2 separate regions of the Homo sapiens genome follow, and region 1 is linked to region 2. The links are contacts of gene promoters, found by promoter capture Hi-C in human tissues and cell types (Jung and others, 2019). All regions are on one chromosome and are shown on one strand. The core of a region is centred on a gene start or on the middle of the fragment in contact, and the rest is flanking DNA. Distances in the headings are between cores, read along the strand shown.

Region 1 (2,746 bases), core at 125-2,624, 1.2 Mb after region 2:
GAGAATCCTGACCAGCAGGGAAGAGGCCATCAGCAGACACCAAGGTTGAGAAGGCGTTGAAATGACAGAAAGACTGACAAAATCTGTTTTTTAAAATTTTACTCATTTAAAAATTTTTTCTTGAGACAAGGTCTTGCTCTGTCACCCAGGATGGAGTGCAGTGGCGTAATCTTAACTCACTGTAGCCTTGAATTCTCGGGCTCAAGTGATCCTCCTGCCCCAGCGTCCCAAGCAGCTGACACCACAGGCACGCACCACCACCACACCCCATTAATTTTTTTTTTACTTTTTGTAGAGACAGATATTCGGGCGCCCCCAGTCTAGCCACACGTATGCCCCCCAGTGGTGGTTCTGGGAATGACCAAGGTTGGCTGCTGAAGTCAGTTGTCTGGGTGAGTCAGAGTGAGACACACAGACACACTCACAGGCACGCCTGAGGGTTGGGGGGCGTTGGGGGTGGTTTTTGGGTACTTCTCAGCTCCTGGGCTCCCCAGACCTCCCTTCCCAGCCCTCAGGCCAGAAAGCAGGGGTGACAGAGCGCACAGAGACGTGGGAGATTTGGCAGCGGGAGGGGAGCTGACCCGCCTGCCTGCAGGCACCAGGACAGGTGCAGGGAGCCATCGGGGCCATCTTGCCCCTTTCAGGGACAGGTTTTATGTTTGCTGTCTCCTGCCCCCACAGAGGCAATGCTAACAGCAAGGGTGTGACCGCCACAGCTCCCTCCACCATTCCGATCATGTCTACATTATTGATTCCTGCTCACGGGGGTTTTACCTTACAGACAGGAATCACACCTCTGCTTGCCCTTAGACACTCCTGCACCCTGGCGGGAGGTCTCCACACAGCCCCCAGACCACACCCCAGGTCTCAAGGGTGGCTGCTCTGCTGGGTGCACATCCGGCCACGGGGCCACCCGGGGGGCCACTTGGGGTTGTGTAGTGAGCGTGGAAGTGCAGACCTGGGGGTCTGCACTTGAGAGCAGGGCAGGCAGGTCGCTGGGGCAGGCGGGGGCCTCCCCCGTGCTGTTCCCAGCCTGCCAGGTAGTCACGAGAGTGCATCCAGGCAGGTGGCAGGAGACATTGCACATCGATGTGAAGCGTGACCCAGTCACTTGGAACAGCTGGACCTGTTGCATCTTCCTCCTTAGCAATAAGCCTCGTGAGCATCGGATCCTTCCAGAAAAGCCATTGTGCGATCGGGCCACACCCAGATTAGCGGGCACAGCACAGCGGGGCAGTAGACACCCTCAGAAAAGGTGCCAGGGGGCGGCTGGGGCTGGACGGGCTTGTGCACTCATCAGTCACACTACTTTTAAGAGCTGTTACCAGATTACCTTAAAAAAAAAAGCTGTAACAGGCTGAGGAGGCAGGAGGATTGCTCGAGGCCAGGAGTTTGAGACTAGCCTGGGCAACAGAGTGAGACCCTGTCTCTACAAAACATAAAAGAATTAGCCAGGCGTGGTGATGCCTGTAGTCCCAGCTACTCCGGAGGCTGAGCGGGTGGGAGAATCGCTTGAGCCCAGGAGGTCAAGACAGCGGTGAGCCCCAGCCTGCGCGACAGATCAAAACCCTCTCAAATTGAAAAGGGGGTTACCTCGTCGCTTTCATTGGCCTTTCCATGATTCCTGATGGGATGAGGACTTTCTTCATGGAATTACCAGCCAGTTTCCTGCTCTGCGAATGATTTCTCCACATCTCTGCTCACTTTTCCATATCGGTTTTTGTCATTTTCTTTAGCAACATATAAAAACTCTTTAAATATTAAGGACCTTAATCACTCCCATGTGTGGCAAATATTTCTTATTTCTTCCCCAACTATTTCTGGCTGCTGCTGTTTTTGTATTTCAAGGGAGGCGAGGGCGGGTGCAGCAAAGTAGCCGAGGTTGCCCTGGTCACCGGCCCCCCGCCCTGGCCCAGCCTGCCTCCACTTGGGGCCACCTCCTTCCCCGTTGGCACTTCTGCGTCTGCTCCTGTGGGGCCACCTCCTTCTATGTCTGCTCCTGGGCCTGCTGGCTTTGACGTGTCTTCCTCCTTTCACTTCCCCCGGTGGTCATGGCATGAGGAATGGAACCTCATGGACCATACATAAGGCCCCCCAGGCCTTACTCACTCCAGCAGACCCTACGGACCGGACTGTGTGGGACAGGCATGCGGCTGGCAGCAGCCCCAGGAGCCACCTGACGGGTTAGGACTGCAGGGTCCCTGTGGCTGTTCTGGGTCTCAGAGCTCAGGTGACGGACAGATGTGCCTTTGGAGCAGTGCAGTGTGTGGGCACGTGGCGACCTCGCATGCTGTCCTACTTTGAAGAGTGCCACCCTTGAGGCCTGCACGGCAGCGTCAGCAGATTCCAGGCGGTGGCGACTTGTCTCATCAACTTTGCAGAAAGGAGACTCGGATCCCCCATGATTTCACGATATGTCACTTTCAAATAGTAACTGAATAACACAGAGTCTACAGGCATTTGGTATTTACCTAAAACTTTATACACTCAAATTGGCACCAAAACCTGCCCCCTCCCGGGACCCCATCTAGAATGCCCTGGAAGAGCTGGAGGTGGCTGACGGCTGTGTGACCACCCCCAGCACACTGGGCCTCAAGCCTGCCAGGCTGTGCCAGGCTGCGCACCAGTGGCCCCCTGACCCTAGCCCAGCTGATACGTGCTGCTCTGTCCCCCAGCCACGGGGCAGGGAACCAGCTGGCAGCCAGCCTGGCTGTGCCCAGCAGCGGTCTGGGCCCTGAGGACACCT
Region 2 (2,700 bases), core at 53-2,552:
AGAGTAGCAATTTGTTACAGATCTTGCCCACTGAAACATGTAATTTGAGGTTAGCACAACACAGGAAGTCCTGCCAAACCTCACTGGGTCGGGAGGACCTCCTACTTCAGTGATTTAAATACCATTTTAAGGGAAGGGTGTTGTGAATGCCCCCTCCCACGCCAACTCTAACCTGTAGAGCAGGCGAGTAACTTCGTGACTGGTTAACAACGTGCGACCAGATGAAAGCACTAAACAATAAAGTGCGGAACACTACCAGCAGTTTGGTGAAAGATTTCTCAAAGGCTGTGCATCTGTGATCAAGGAGCCCACCAATGAAATTCTTTGTAGAGTTAAAAAAATTGCTTTATAGGTTGTTTTGGGGTATTATAGAGAAGTCTCCAGAGTATTTGGACTTCTAAGTTGTGGGTTCACTTTGAGCACCCACTATATGGCCAGCGATCCGAACCAGAAAGTTAATGATGAAGGTTCAAAGGGAATGGGGTGGCTACGAGTGTGGAATAGGAATGAGGGATCCTCAGAGAACAGGAATTCTGGGCACTGGGGATGGGGTGTGTGGACGCTAGGAAACAGGTAGGGTAGGAGGCCTGGAAGGTCAATGAAGTTCTTGGGGCTCAAAACATAGGTATTTTGAGAGCTGGGATACGGGAGGGCTTCCCTATCCCCAAGCGTGCGGTGAGGGCTGCGGGAGAATGGTTTCATTTTGACTTCAGACAGCCCAACTCGTCAGGATCTAACGGGGATTAACTGGGAGAGACATGGGGAGCAGCTGGCTTAGTCTCCCGCCCCTGGAAAGGCCAGGGTTGGTCCGAGTCGGGTGCCTCTGTGGGGCAGGGACTGGCTCTGCGGTAAGGAAAGAAATACGGGGGAGGGGCCCCGGGACCCGCCTTCTGGGGCGGTCGCAAGGGGTCCCGGAAGGCCGCGGTCCCGGGGGTCGGGGGGTCCCCGCGCGGGGGCGCGCCTCACCTCGCACATCCCCAGCCAGGGCCCGCCAAGTGGGCGCGTAGCCGATGCAGTGGCCACACCACGACGAGTAGAACTGCACGAGCCACGCGGCCGAGCTGTTGGCGGTGGCCCCGCGCACGCTGCCGCTGTCCAGCACCCACACGGCGTCCTCGCCCGCGCGGTACAGCCGCGCCGCACCGCCCGCGCCCGGCCCCACCGCCGCCGCCGCTAGCAGCACTAGCAGCCGCGGCAGCCGTGCGGCCCGCGGCGGGGGCGAGCGCCGGGCTCTCAGCGCAGGTCCCGCTCCGATTCCCGGGCTGCGCGCCACCGCCGCCCCGGCCGCCGCCATGTTGGAAGTGCCGCCGGCGCGCTGAACTTTCACCCTGGCAACCACCGTCACGTGCGCCGGCGCGCCCGGCCCCGCCCCCGCGCGCCCAGTTCTGTTCCGCCCCGCCCCCTCACGTCTGACCCCGCCCTCTCTCCCCGCCCCCGCCCCCGCCCATGCGTGGCAGCCCCGCCCCCAAGAGTCTGATGACGCCATCTCCCCGCCCAGGCGCGGCAGGCTCCGCCCAGGCCCCGCCCCACCCCGCCGCGCGTTCCCCAAACCCCTTCCCTGAACAGGGCCAGGTGGCCACATTTAGCAAATGGAAGTGCACGACGCCAGGTTCAACGTGAATTTCAGACAAACAGTGAGTCGGTTTTTCAGCCTAGGTCTGTGCCATGCCTGAAATACAAATTTAACAAGACATTCTTAGACGTAAAAAACTATTCCGGGGTTCTTTTACTTGGCAACCCCACCTGGGGCTTCAGAGGGTCTGCAAGCCAGCCTCGACTTTTTAATATGATATTGGAACGCTTAGAAAATGCAGCAAAACATCCACTCAAAGTCAGATGTGTTGTGTGCTACCTTTTAGGATGTTCCAGTCGAATGCAGCTTCACGGTTTGGAAATGAAATCATATGACTTTTTTGCTTCATTGAACAGGATACCTGATTTTTTTTTTTGTTCCTATTCCTAATTTTTACACATGTCAAGATTTTCTCTGAACTGTGTGACCAAAACAAAACAAGGGAGTGGGCGAGCCTGGGCAACATAGCGAGAGCCCATCTCTTAAAAAAAAGAAAAAAGCCGGGCATGGTGGTGCACACCTGTAGTCCCAGCTACTTGAGGGGCTAAGGTGGAGGATGGCTTGAGCCTGGGAGCTTGAGGCTGCAGTGAGCCGTGACTCTGCCACTGCACTCCAGCCTGGATGACAGAGCGAGACCTTGTCTCAAAATAAATAGATAACTGTATTGTGGGGTTCTGTGTAAGATTTTGTTTAAAAGGTTTTGCTGCTAACAATGGTTAACCCCAGATGAGAGGATTCTCCCCAGAGGGCCCCTGGCCAAGGCGTCTGCTCCCTTTTCCTCACGTCCTGCGTCTCCCTGTTCATGTTTCCTTCCATCACCCACGTTTCCTGGCTTCTGCTCTGTGCCAAGCCCTGGAGACAAATCAAGAACAAAACCGAGCCCCCAGTGTCCCTGGCCTGCATTTGGGCAGACCCCAAACAAACCAACGCGTAAAGCAGCCACCGCGTGCTATGAAAAGCAATGAAGCCGGACACGGAAGCAGGTGCCAGCAGGGCTGCCGTACAGAGGAGGGTGGGGAGGTCTTTGAGAAGGTGACCCGAATGGAGAAGGAGGTGAGGGAGGAGGCACACATGCAAAGGCCCTGGGGCAGAAGGGTGCTGAGCACGCTGGAGGAACAGCAAGGAGC

Evidence for each region. The method cuts DNA at HindIII sites, captures the fragments that hold promoters and counts their contacts. A contact is called where the count stands out against the background at its distance.
Region 1: a contact is called between a fragment that was not itself captured here and the fragment with the promoter of QSOX2 in region 2, in 1 of the 25 tissues and cell types used here (spleen).

The regions. Positions count from the first base shown.
Region 1 is chr9:137,445,111-137,447,856 of GRCh38, forward strand. NSMF (NMDA receptor synaptonuclear signaling and neuronal migration factor) reads right to left here. Exons shown (of 16, transcript NM_001130969.3): 16 at 2,460-2,746. Among named protein-coding and RNA genes, the nearest start is that of MIR7114, 3.6 kb to the right of the region's middle. The HindIII fragment of the contact is 6,315 bases long and covers 1-2,746 here.
Region 2 is chr9:136,244,510-136,247,209 of GRCh38, forward strand. It overlaps QSOX2 (quiescin sulfhydryl oxidase 2), which reads right to left and starts at 1,303. Exons shown (of 12, transcript NM_181701.4): 1 at 967-1,303. The coding sequence starts at 1,294. RefSeq lists silencers at 831-1,240, 1,271-1,540. The HindIII fragment of the contact is 9,280 bases long and covers 1-2,700 here.